Regions from separate parts of the Homo sapiens genome. Here regions 1 and 2 are each linked to region 3. The links are contacts of gene promoters, found by promoter capture Hi-C in blood cells and fetal thymus (Javierre and others, 2016). All regions are on one chromosome and are shown on one strand. Each heading gives the region's core, a stretch centred on a gene start or on the middle of the fragment in contact. The rest is flanking DNA. Distances are from core to core; before and after follow the strand shown.

Region 1 (3,766 bases), core at 877-3,376, 270 kb before region 3:
ATATGGGGAAAAACTATTTTCCTAGACACAACTATCTTTAGAATGACATTCTGCTCTGCAGAATGGAAACCAGAGTGAGTAGTATACCTACCTGGTCACATTTTTTATTTCCTGCCAGGGGAGGTGGTTAATTTGCAGGAATCTCAAAACTTGAGTCTAGCTTTTTCTGTGGTGTATTTGGAGCTGGAAGTTGCATGTATTTTATTCCAGAGCTGAACTGCTGCAGCTATATGAGCGCTGTATTCTATTAGATATTGAGTTCTCTGATAATCAGAATGTGGATCAGATCCTGTGGAAGAATGCTTTCTATCAGGTGATTGAGAAGTTCAGGCAACTTGTCAAGGATCCGAATGTTGAGAACCCAGAACAGATTCGGAACAGACTTTTGGAGCTCTTGGATGAGGTAAACTGTCATCTTTTTGTCCTCAGGATAAAGGCTTCAGCATTCTGTAGTTACGATGGATTTTTACTACCTGAAATACTATGTTTTAGAACAGAATATCGACAAAAAAACTGCCCTTTTCTTGGGTTCTGAGCCTTCCCTACACCAGTTGCTTCCTTGGGACCATAAATTACTGGCAATTGGAGTTTTGAGGTTGAAAGCTTTCTGAATGCCTTGGCCTAAAAGAGAGAGAATGAGAATGTGTATGTATGTGTTTGTGTTTGTGTGGAGAGAGCGTGTGTGTGTGTGTGTGTGTGTGTTCATGTGTTCATATCTTTAAAACCATGGAGGCTTTGACTGTGAATTTGCCTTGTTCTCAAATTGGTGGCCAGTGAATATTGTGCGTGCCTCCCTTTTCATAGGATGTCTGAACATCAGCAGAACTGTGAAAGGGTTGTCTGCCCCGGTTTTTGGTGGATAGGTTGGATTAGAATAGATTGATTCAGTCATTTCTTTTTTTCTTTTTATAGGGTAGTGACTTCTTTGATAGTTTGCTTCAGAAGCTGCAGGTTACTTACAAGTTCAAACTGGAAGACTACATGGATGGTCTTGCCATTCGCAGCAAGCCATTACGCAAGACAGTAAGCTACCTTCTTTATGTATCTTAAATTTTCATTCATTTCGTAAGCGTTTATCTAGTGTTAGGTATGTGCTAGACACTGTACTGGGTGTTGAGGATAAAATAATGATACAGTTCAGTGCAGGGACAGATAGATTAAACCAACAATTGTAATGTCATATGTACTATGGTAGTGGTATATAGCAGTGCTCCCCAGCCTTTTTTCTTTCTTTCTTTCTTTTTTTTTTTTTTTTCATTTTTTGAGAAGGAGTTTCATTCATGTCACCCAGGCTGGAGTGCAGTGGTTTGATCTTGGCTCACTGTAACCTTCAACCTCTGCCTCCCAGGTTTAAGGGATTCTCCTCTGTCAGTCTCCCGAGTAGCTGGCGTTACAGGTGCCCACCACCAAGCCTGGCTAATTTTTCTATGTTTTGTAGAGACGGGGGTTTCATCATGTTGCCCAGGCTGGTCTCGAACTTCTGACCTTCGGTGAGCCACCCGCCTCAGCCTCCCAAAGTGCTGGGATTGCAGGCATGAGCCACCGGGCCTGGCCAGTCCCTAGCCTTTTTGGCACCGGGGACTAGTTTCATGGAAGACAGTTTTTCCATGGACGGAGATGTTGGGGCATTAGATTCTCATGAGGAGTGCATAGCCTAGGTCCCTCGCATGCTTAGTTCACAATAGGGTTTGCGCACCTGTGAGAACTAATACCGCTGCTGATCTGACAGGAGTTAGGGTTCAGGTGGTGATGCTTGCCTGCCCACCGCTCAGACCAGAGACTGGTACCAGTCCGCGGCCTGGGGGCTGGGGACCCCTGATATAGAGTGTTGAAGGGCCATAGGGAGAAGTGAATCTAACGTAGCCTGGTGGGGCCAAGGAAGGCTTCTTGGAGATTGTCAAGCTGAGTTTTGAAACATGACTAGGAGTTTGAAGGTGGGAGGGGCAGTTTAGATAGAGGGTCCAGCAAAAGAGAACCAGGCATTGTTGGGAAAGTGCAAGAACTTCAGTATGCTGGTGTTTGTAGTGTGGAGGGGGCTATTGTAGGTGGAAAAGCTAACAAAGTGGGAAGCGACTAGGTCATAAACTCTCATATGCTATGCCGAAGAGTTTGGACTTCATTCTGAAAGCACTGGGGAACCATTAATTGATTTTTTAGTAAATGGATAAGGTAGATTTGTTCTTAGAACCAGTCACTTGGGCAAATTGGTGAGTTTGAATGGGAGCTGGGCAAGAGTGGAGATAGAGGAGTCAGGTTGTAGGTCTGAACTAAGATAGAGGTCGTGGAGATGGGAAAGAGAAGACAGATTGGAAAGAAAGAAAGGAAATAGAATGGAATTGTTGACTGATTTGGTGTGAGGGATGAGATTGGAGGCATGAAGAGTCTGAATCATCTCCCAGCTGGTAGTCCAGGGGAGTGGCTGCAAAGGAAAGAGATTGGTTCAGGTTTGGATATGCTGATGTGGAGGTGTGTGTGTTACAGGAACTTGAAAGTGAACAAGTGAATATTGTGGTCTCTCTGGAGGTCAGGAGAAAGCTGGGCTGGTGATATAGATTCATGAGTCATCATGATACAGGTGGTGGTTGAAGCAAAAGTTGGGGTACTGGGAAGGCTGGCCAGAAACGGGGGTTACATTTCAAGGTGGGGGTAGGTAAAATTGTCAAGTGCAATGGAGCTGTCAAATGTTAAGATTACTAAAAAGTGTCCGTTGGATTGGATGAACTTATCAAGAGTTAATTTAGTTGGGGAAACTGGAAGCCGGATTGTAGTGAAGAGAGATAAAGCAGTAGAGATTGCCAGAGAGTAATATAGACCATTCTTTTAAGCATCTTGGCTGCGAAGACAAGGAGGGAAGACAGCTAAAAGAACATAGGGTTCTAAGAGAAGGTTTTTTGTTCTTTGTTTTTCGTTTTTTTTGTCTGTACCACGCCTGGCCAGTTTTTGTTTTAAGATTGGAAAGTTGAGCATATTTAGGAAGCAGTTAGAGATGCATTAGGGAGAGCAGCGTGATTTATGGAGCAGAGGCTTCCTCTTGCCTTTTTGCTCCTTCTACTACATACACACTTTCTTACTGATGGACAGATGTTTTTGGCTGGGCGCAGTGGCTCACTCTTTAATCCCAGCCCTTTGGGAGGCCAAGGCAGGCAGATCACCTGAGGTCAGGAGTTTGAGACCAGCCTGGCCCAACATGGCGAAACCCCCTCTCTACTAAAAATACAAAAATTAGCTGGGTGTGGTGGTGCATGCCTGTAATCCCAGCTACTCAGGAGGCTGAGACAGGAGAATCGCTTAAAAACCAGAAGGCAGTGGTTGCAGTGAGCTAAGACTGCGTTATTGCACTCTAGCCTGGGCAACAAAGTGAGACTCTATCTCAAAAAAAAAAAAAAGTGTTTATTGAGTTCCTCTTACATGCTTGGTGGTATTTTAGGCAGAGGCAATTCAGTGCAGATTGAAAAAAAACCGTGCTCCTGTTTCTTGGAGTTTAGTGTTTGATTGCTGGTGAGTACAGACTTTGGATGAGTAATTGCTGATGGAGTGACTTTTGCCAAGGATGTTGGGGGTGTATACTGTAAAGGGTTAACCTAGTTTTAAAGAATCCTGTGAGACTGAGAAAATCATAGTTAAACTAACGCTGAAGGCCGAAAGCTTCAGCCAGGTGAAGGTGTATGTGTAGATGCAAGGAGAGGAACATTTTAGGGGAAGAGGACAATATACTTAAAGGCCCTGAAGTGGAGAACACCGTGGTGTGTTAGGGGAACTTTGGAGT
Region 2 (4,295 bases), core at 1,369-3,868, 380 kb after region 3:
GTGAGGACGCTGGGAAGCCGGGGGGCCTCCGATCACCCCACCTCATTCTCCAGTCATTGACATGTCCACAGTGACATGTGCCAGGCCTGCGCTGGGAACTGGGAGGACATGAATTGTACAGCCCTTGCCCTCCTGCAATGTCATCCAGACAGGGGAGAGGGACAGTACAAAGGGTTGCAGCTGCAGCAGCCAGGGAATCTCTCCTAGGAGGGGGCCACGGGGCCACCTAATTTAAGGTCTGAGGGTGTCAGCAAGGCAGAGCGCTTCCCGTGTTCAGGGAAGAGCTGCGTGCACAGGTACCAGGAGTGAGGACTGCGGCTGGCATCTCCACTGCTGGCATCCCCATGGCTGGCATCACCAGGGCTTTCTCCCTCCCTGCCCCTTTTCTTTAGGGAGCTGCTCACAGACCACCGGGTCCCCGGCCTTCTGCTCGAGGCCATGAAGGTGGCTGTCCGGAAGCAGCGGAAGAAGATCAAGGCCAAGATGTTAGGGACACCAGAGGAAGCAGAGAGCAGGTAGGTCCCTGCCTGCATTCCCACGGAGCCAGGCCTCCCTCCCTCATTCTGCTGAGCCTGATGACCCAGCCTGGTCACCCTCTGAGCCCATTGTCTCAGACTGAGGCTGTCACCCCAACCCGGTCACCCCTTGAGCCTCCCTAGCCTGGCCGCTTCTAGGGCCTGCTGACCTGCTCTGGCTGTGTCCCATGGCCGCTGTCCAGCCTGCGCCCTTCTCCCTGGATCTCACCACTCCCCTTGCCTTGCCTGCCATCCATTCTGCCTGACAACACTGCCTCTCCACATTCATTCTTCAAGTTCCTGTCTTGGCTGGGTCTGTTTATTCTTACGGGGGTGAAACTGTAGCCGCGGCTGTGTCAGGGCCTGCTGTGTGTCAAGCTATAAAATAAACCCTTGGCAGGGCGCGGTGGCTCACGCCTGTAATCCCAGCACTTTGAGAGGCTAAGGTGGGTAGATCACCTGAGGTCAGGAGTTCGAGACCAGCGTGGCCAACATGGTGAAACTCCGTCTCTACTAAAAATACAAAAATTAGCCGGGCATGGTGGCATGTGCCTATAATCCCAGCTACTCAGGAGGCTGCGGCAGGAGAATCGCTTGAACTTGGGAGGCGGAGGTTGCAGTGAGCTGAGATCGCACCACTGCACTCCAGCCTGGGCGACAGAGTGAGACCCTGTCTCAAAAAAAAAAAAATTAAAAATTAAAGGCTCGACATCCTGCATCTCCCCAGGGTTGCCTTCTCTCCAGCCCCGGGGGCCCTGCAGTCCCTCCATCCCCCCTGCTGGATTCCTGTTGTCCCTCAGGGCCTTGATCAATGGCCCTCACTTCTCCTCTCTCCTCTGTCTCAGTGAGGATGAGGCTGGCCCATGGATCCTGCTCTCCGATGACAAGGGAGACCATCCCCCACCCCCGGAGTCCAAAATACAGAGTTTGTATGTTGGGGAAAGGGGAAAGGCAAGAGTGTGGGGAGGGAGGAAGGGCCCTGGCTGGTCCTTCTCAGGATCCCCTTTCCCGCTTCTCTGCCCGTCACCCTGCTGTGCTTGGCTCTAAGCACACCGTCCCCTCCTGCTTCTCTGGCCCTGGCCCCCATCACCTTCACACTCCCTCAGGCTGCCCTTTCTTCCCCCTCTCCCCTTTTCTCACCATCCCCTGCCCTCACCCATATCCTTGACCTCTCTGGCTTCCTGGCTCAAAGTGCCTCTGGCTGTCTCTCTCCAGCTTTGGCCTATGGTATCGGGGTAAAGCTGAATCCTCTGAGGATGAGACCAGCAGCCCTGCACCCAGCAAGCTAGGGGGAGAAGAGGAGGCCCAACCACAGTCTCCAGCTCCTGATCCGCCCTGTTCTGCCCTCCACGAACACCTTTGTCTGGGGGCCTCAGCCGCCCCAGAGGCCTGACTTAGGGGTCTGGCTGTGGAAGGATGTGTGGCCTCAAATGAGGACAGGGCTCCCGCCTTCACAGCCCTCGCCAGGGGTCTGCCCCAATCCTGGCCTGCATCAGGGCAGGACGGGGTCTCAGCCCGCCTCCCTCTCTACGTCTCTGTACCGAGCCTCTGGGGCCAGATATAAGAGTGCCTCTCTGAGTCTCAGTTTCCCCATCCATGAAATGAGAGCTGACTGCCTAGCTCCCAGGGCTTTGTGCAGACGGCCTGAGCTCATGTAATAAAGAACTGCCCGTAATACACAGAAACTGTTCCTCGCCTGTCTGTCCATGTCTGTGCCACCTCCCAACCCTGCCAGGAGCAGAGGCAGGCTGAGGGGTCCTCGCTGGTCTCCTTGCTCAGTCACTGGGTGGGGTGGCTTCTTGCAGCTCAGGCCTTGCTTTGGGAGTGTGGCCTGATGGAAAGCCGTGGCTCCCAGCCTCAGTCCACCCCCTTCCCTGGCCCCGGCACCCAGGGACCTGCAACTTCATTCTTCTGGCCCTTCCAGGCCCAGGCCAGTCAGCCCTGCCATTGCCTTTCTTTCCCTTTCTTTTTTTGAGTGTCAGTCTTTCCAGCCACCCCCTCCCTCTCAGGGAGGTGCCTCGTGGCAGCCCGCCCCTCCGGCCTGGTTTCCTCAGGAAAAGCCCTGAGAGGAAGCAGGGAGGGGGTTGGGAGCTGTGGGGGCCAGACGAACCCGAGCGCTCCCACCGAGCTGCCTGCCATGGGGCTGGGGCTGCTGCTCCCGCTGCTGCTGCTCTGGACTCGGGGGACTCAGGGGTCCGAGCTGGACCCCAAAGGGCAGCACGTCTGTGTGGCCAGCAGGTGGGTCTCGTGGGAGTCTGATGCGTGTGGCCAGCAGGTGGGTCTCGTGGGAGTCTGATGCGGGTGGCTGAACCGGTGTTGAGGCCGTTAGGGGAAGGAGGAGACTAGGAAGGGGGCTTAGGCTGAAAGGAAGGGACTGCTGATGGCGGTCTGGCAGGTAGTGGCCAGCCAGGGCAGATGGTGGAAGGGTCAGGGAAGGAGAGGGGAGGGGCTGGGGACCCTAGCTGTAAAGATCCATTAGGCCTCCCCAGGGGGCTAAGGCAGCCTCCCCCACTGCAGCCAGAGACAGTGATCCACCTTCCTCAGGGCCAGGCTGCACCCCCCACCATGTCCGGCTGACCCCTTTTTGCCCCACAGCCCCTCTGCTGAGCTGCAGTGCTGCGCAGGCTGGAGGCAGAAGGATCAAGAATGCACCATCCGTGAGTAGCCAGGACAGACCCTCAGCCAAGGAGAAGGGAGGCCGTAGCCCAGTGACAACCCTTCCTTCCTACCCCATGGGGCCTGCCCCTCCTGATACCAGGAGTCAGGGTTTCTCCTGTGACGCACCCCCAGGCCTGAAGGGGCACCTCTTGAGGAGGCATGGCCCCTGGAGCCAGTGAGAGGGCAGGGGTGTCCCCTGGTCCTGCTCCCGTCTTTCCAACCTGGGTGGGGTGTCTTTCAGCCATCTGTGAGGGGCCGGACGCCTGCCAGAAAGACGAGGTGTGTGTGAAGCCGGGCCTCTGTCGATGCAAGCCTGGATTCTTTGGGGCCCACTGCAGCTCCCGTGAGTCTCAAGGGCCAGATGAAGTTGCTGGGCAGAGCTGGGTACGGGGGCAGTGGTGTGGGAGCAGGCGAGGCAGGTAGCCATGCAGCCTCAGGACAGCAGGGCCAGAATCCCCCCCAGCTTCACTGAGGAATTGCGGTCCAGAGACAGGAAGTGACACACACTCCCGGGAGATGACCTGAGTCACCGGGTTTTTACCCACATCCACAAAGCACTGCCCACCTGAGCATCTTCCTCTTCCACTTCTCAGAAAACCTGTGATTCCCCTTCATTGTAAAATGAGTGTATTACTTGCCTTTCCCACATATACCTTATACATGGGCAGTGGATGGAAGGGGGCCCCTGGCTGGGCTCTCTGCCCTCTCTGGCAGAAAGAGAGGGAAGGGAAAGGGGTTGGGAAGCAGGAGAGCCAGAGGGTGGGCATCAGGAATCAAGGAATCACTAGGGGAAAGGTGGCTTCTCCCGACACCCTGGCGGGCAGTATCCAGGCCTGAGATCAGGAGAAAGCCAGCTCTCCTCCAGCCCAGCAGAGATCCATCTCGGCAGGGAGGAGCAGGCATGGAGGAAGGCCCACCAACCTCGGTGCCACGCTCTGGGCAAGTCCCCTGCCCACTCAGGATCTCTGAGTGTGTTCTGGAATGTGAAGTGGCAGGCTGAGCCTCCCACTAATGGCTAAGGGTTTTCTGTAGGTCAGAGCGGAGCAGGAAGTGAGTGTTGCCCAGGACAGGCTGCCGGATGTTCTGAGGGTCTGTCCCCGGCTCTTGGAGGATGGGCCCAGC
Region 3 (3,770 bases), core at 467-2,966:
TTACAACTCCTGGAGTAAAGGGGAAACCGTAGCCCTTAGCAAACTGCAACTCTTACTCTGGTCTCATCCTACTCCTAAGTAGGATAAAAAATAATAAGCTGAATAAACAATTCATCTTATTATTTTTTAAGGCAGGGTCTCACTCCATCACCCAGGCTGGAGTGCAGGGGTGCAATCATGGTCCACTGCGGCCTCGACGTCCTGGGCTCAAACGATAATCCTCCCACCTCAGCCTCCCCAGTAGCTAGGACCACAGGCATGTGCCAAGACGCAGGGCTAATTTTTTTTTTTTTTTTTTTTTTTGAGACAGAGTCTCACTCTGTCTGTTGGCCAGGCTGGAGTGCAGTGGTGCAATCTCGGCTCACTGCAACCTCAGCCTCTCGGACTCAAGCAATTCTCCTGCCTCAGCCTCCCGAGTAGCTGGGATTACAGGCGTGTGCTACCACACGCGGCTAATTTTTGTATTTTTAGTAGAGACAGGGTTTCCACCATGTTGGCCAGGCTGGTCTCAAACTCCTGACCTCAGGTAATCCGCCCGCCTCAGCCTCCCAGAGTGCTGGGATTACAGGTGTAAGCCACCGTGCCCGGCCACGCACGGCTATTTTTTATTTTTTTGTGCATACAGGGTCCCCCTATGTTTCCCAGACTGGTGTGGAATTCCTGGGCTCACACAATCCTCCTTAGCCTCCCAAAGTGCTCAGACTAAAGGTGTAAGCCACTATGCCCTGCCCCGACAATTAAGCTTAGTTCAACCCCGTTATCTCTTCAGGAGCCACAGAGTCTGAGGATATGAAAAGGCAAGAAATTAACTTATTCAACGAATATGTATTGAGACTGTGCTATGTGCCACAACTTCTGCTAGGGCCCCACACTATGATAGGAGGGACCCGCCCAGACATGAGGCTTCACCCACTGTGTGGGCGGCGGTGGGGATGGTCCAGCGGAGGCTGGGGCCCTGAGATCAGATTTGAACGTTACCACTGCTATGGTTTTTGGCCAGTTGTTTCAAAAGCCTTGGACAATCAGCCTAGGCTTCCTAGGCCCATTACAGATCCTCCTCTGACAGGTCCCTAGTGGTCGCTGGCGTGTAAGGAACTGCTAACATTAGCCCTTCAATGTGTCCCAGGGACCAGTAGGCACCTCCTCCTTTATCACGTGGCTATGATATGTTTACATTAACATTCCCCCAGTAGACTGAGATCTCTGATTCTAGTACCTGCACCCAGCGCAGGCCTGGCATTCGGTGGGCGCTCAGTTAATGCCTGGCGAATGAAACCTTTTGCCTCTTCCCTGAAAGCATTCCCTGAGGGCGCACTCGTAAAATGCCCGCTGCATCTGGCCTGGCCCTTTCCCTCCCCGTCGAGTCCATTTTATCCGTCTACCCGCCAAGACAAGGCTGTAGTTTCCGATTGGAGGATTAAGGGCTGCTCTCGGTCGTGCCCTAAAGCTGCAAAAGACTGGTACCCCTGGGCTCCGGCTGACAGCGACCCCGAGCTGGTGACAGCGGCCCAAGGCGACTAACAGCGGGATCTAGCGGAGAAAGGCGCCGCCGCCGTTAAAGGGGGTTGGTCCTGTCCCTAACTTGGGGGCCCCGCCCCGAGATGCGAGGTCTGGAGGGCGCAGCGTTCCAGCACCCACCTCTGCCAGGGCCGTCTCGGCCGCCCTGCTCCGCTGCCCCGGATACGACCAGCGCCGCCATCACCTGCCTGCGCATGTGGTACTAAAAAGACAGCGCTGGAAGAACGCGGAGAGCGCAGACATTGCGATCGATCGCCGATCGGCCAGCGGGGGCGGGGGATACCCGCTGGGCGGGGCCATAAAGGAGGAGATAGGGGCGGGGCTGTAGTGGGCTCCACCCCAGCCCAGAATGCCGGGACTCAGGATTCCCTAGAGGTCCCCGACTATGCAGTTGCCCTTGCCCTGCGACTTAGTCTCCCACTCCTCTCCCCGGCCGGGCACGAGCCTGGCACTCCCGGACCGGTGCTCTCCTATGTGCGAACTCCCTGCACGAACTCTGCAGGCCGAGTCTTGTGAAGGGGACACCCACCAGATGTTCCTTGAGCCCCCCCTGCCAGTCTCCCCTCCTGGTAAGCAGTGGTCGGTCACCCGGCCGCCGTGTGGGGCCACGTTCCCTACCTAGGGGGACTCTACTGTCCGGCAGGACAGAACTCAGGGACCACCAGCCCAGCTCCAAGTTGAGAGTCTTGGTGCAGGTTTGTGGATCGCCCTTATCAGCTTTTTAAATTATTTTTTTTGAGACAGGGTCTTGGTCTGTCGCCCAGGCTGGAGTGCAGTGGTGCGATCATGGTTCACAGCAGTCTCAACCTTCTGGGCTCAATTCATCTTCCTGCCTCAGCCCCCTGAGTACCCGGGACCACAGGCGTACGTTCAGCTAATTTTTTTTTTTTTTTTTTTTTTTTTTTTTAGTAGAGATAAGGTTTCACTATTTTGCTCAGGCTGGTCTTGAACCTCTGGACTCAAGCAATCCTCCCACTTTGGCCTCCCAAAGTGCTGGGATTACAGGCGCGAGCCACTGCACCCAGCCTTTATCACCTTTAGAATCCACTGCGTAGACCCTGTAGAAACTGCCCCTCTGGGGAAGGCCCACAGCCTGAGGGTGCTTTCCTGGGAAGGTGGGCAGTGGAGGACTGTGATGTCTAACCCTTCTGGACCCTGGCCAACCTTTGCCCTGCCCCTCAGGGCTGGTCTTTCTCCTGATCACTGGCCAGAGCCCCAGAGACCCCAAAGAGAAGACAGCCAGTGAGACGGCTTTGACCTGTGGAAGAGCAAAGTACCTGCAGGACTGGCCCTCAGCAGTCTGTCCCGTGGAACAATGGTCTTCCAGGTCTGACGGTCTACCCAGCCCCCTGGCATCCTCCTCCTCTCTCTGCGGTGGTGCTGTGATCACAGCTGGCCCTTTAAGTCAGCTCTGTGTCCTCGGGCTCCCCCAGAGGCCCTCCCTGCTTGGAAACCCCTAATTAAGGTGCAGGGAGAAGTAAAAACAAGCAGCCAGAGACAGGCCCTGCCTGGGAGGCTGCCCAGAGAGGAGGAATGGCTGGACAGGCAGGGAGTGAGCAGCTGAGGGACCATCACCAAGGGTCAGTGCTGTGCCCCCCAGGCCACCGGCACTCTTAGGACAGGTAGCTCTAGACAGAAAAGTGACCAATGTGGGTCCCAGGAACACTCCCCTCAACTCGATAAGCGTCCGGACTAGACCTTCCCATCTCCCCCCAGCTTCTCTGGATCCCCAGGGTGCAAGATCTGAATTCTGGGAGCTCAGCCCCTCCTCTCTCAGGACACTGCTGCCCAGCCTGTGGACAGCCTTAGCTGTGACTGCAGCATGGAGTTTCAAGGGGAAAGGACTGGCTCCAACTGAGCAATGGCTTCTCCCTAGCAGGCGCCATATCCCTTGGGACCTTTCCCTCATCAGAGGTGGGGCCTGTTTGATGGCAAAAGTCCCATCCCTCTAGTAACATTGCCCCGCACCCGCTGTGCCTAATGAGCTGCTCTGGCCCCCATTAGGAAGCCGGATGATGCCTAGGAGAACTGGACATGAAGAACAGATGTGAGAATGCTTCCCCAAGACTCCGTGGTGCAGGACATTGGGGGCTGCCATTCAGCTTGGGCTGAGGGCACCTCCATCTGTCTGTGGGGGTCTCCCTGCCTGAGTTACTCAGCAGTCTGAGTAATTACTGCCTGACAAGAAGGCGGGCACAGTGCACCCCCACAGTACACCACAACACCCGCCTTCACTCGCCCCCACTCCCTGG

The links. The method cuts DNA at HindIII sites, captures the fragments that hold promoters and counts their contacts. A CHiCAGO score of 5 or more calls a contact.
Region 1: a fragment that was not itself captured here is called in contact with the fragment with the promoter of DPH1 in region 3 in 3 of 17 cell types (naive CD4 T cells, endothelial precursors and total CD8 T cells); the score reaches 6.7 in naive CD4 T cells.
Region 2: a contact is called between the fragment with the promoter of SCARF1 here and the fragment with the promoter of DPH1 in region 3, in 2 of 17 cell types (fetal thymus and naive CD4 T cells). The highest score is 6.5, in fetal thymus.

Annotation. Positions count from the first base shown.
Region 1 is chr17:2,294,500-2,298,265 of GRCh38, reverse strand. It overlaps SMG6 (SMG6 nonsense mediated mRNA decay factor), which reads left to right. Exons shown (of 19, transcript NM_017575.5): 3 at 211-403; 4 at 913-1,023. Among named protein-coding and RNA genes, the nearest start is that of SMG6, 7.4 kb to the left of the region's middle. The HindIII fragment of the contact is 3,042 bases long and covers 606-3,647 here.
Region 2 is chr17:1,644,055-1,648,349 of GRCh38, reverse strand. It overlaps SCARF1 (scavenger receptor class F member 1), which reads left to right and starts at 2,618. Exons shown (of 11, transcript NM_003693.4): 1 at 2,618-2,753; 2 at 3,111-3,172; 3 at 3,415-3,516. The coding sequence starts at 2,653. It overlaps RILP (Rab interacting lysosomal protein), which reads left to right. Exons shown (of 8, transcript NM_031430.3): 6 at 393-515; 7 at 1,361-1,444; 8 at 1,731-2,200. The coding sequence ends at 1,908. The HindIII fragment of the contact is 11,256 bases long and covers 1-4,295 here.
Region 3 is chr17:2,028,099-2,031,868 of GRCh38, reverse strand. It overlaps DPH1 (diphthamide biosynthesis 1), which reads right to left and starts at 1,716. Exons shown (of 13, transcript NM_001383.6): 1 at 1,639-1,716. The coding sequence starts at 1,699. RefSeq lists enhancers at 785-1,376, 1,377-1,968. The HindIII fragment of the contact is 3,872 bases long and covers 745-3,770 here.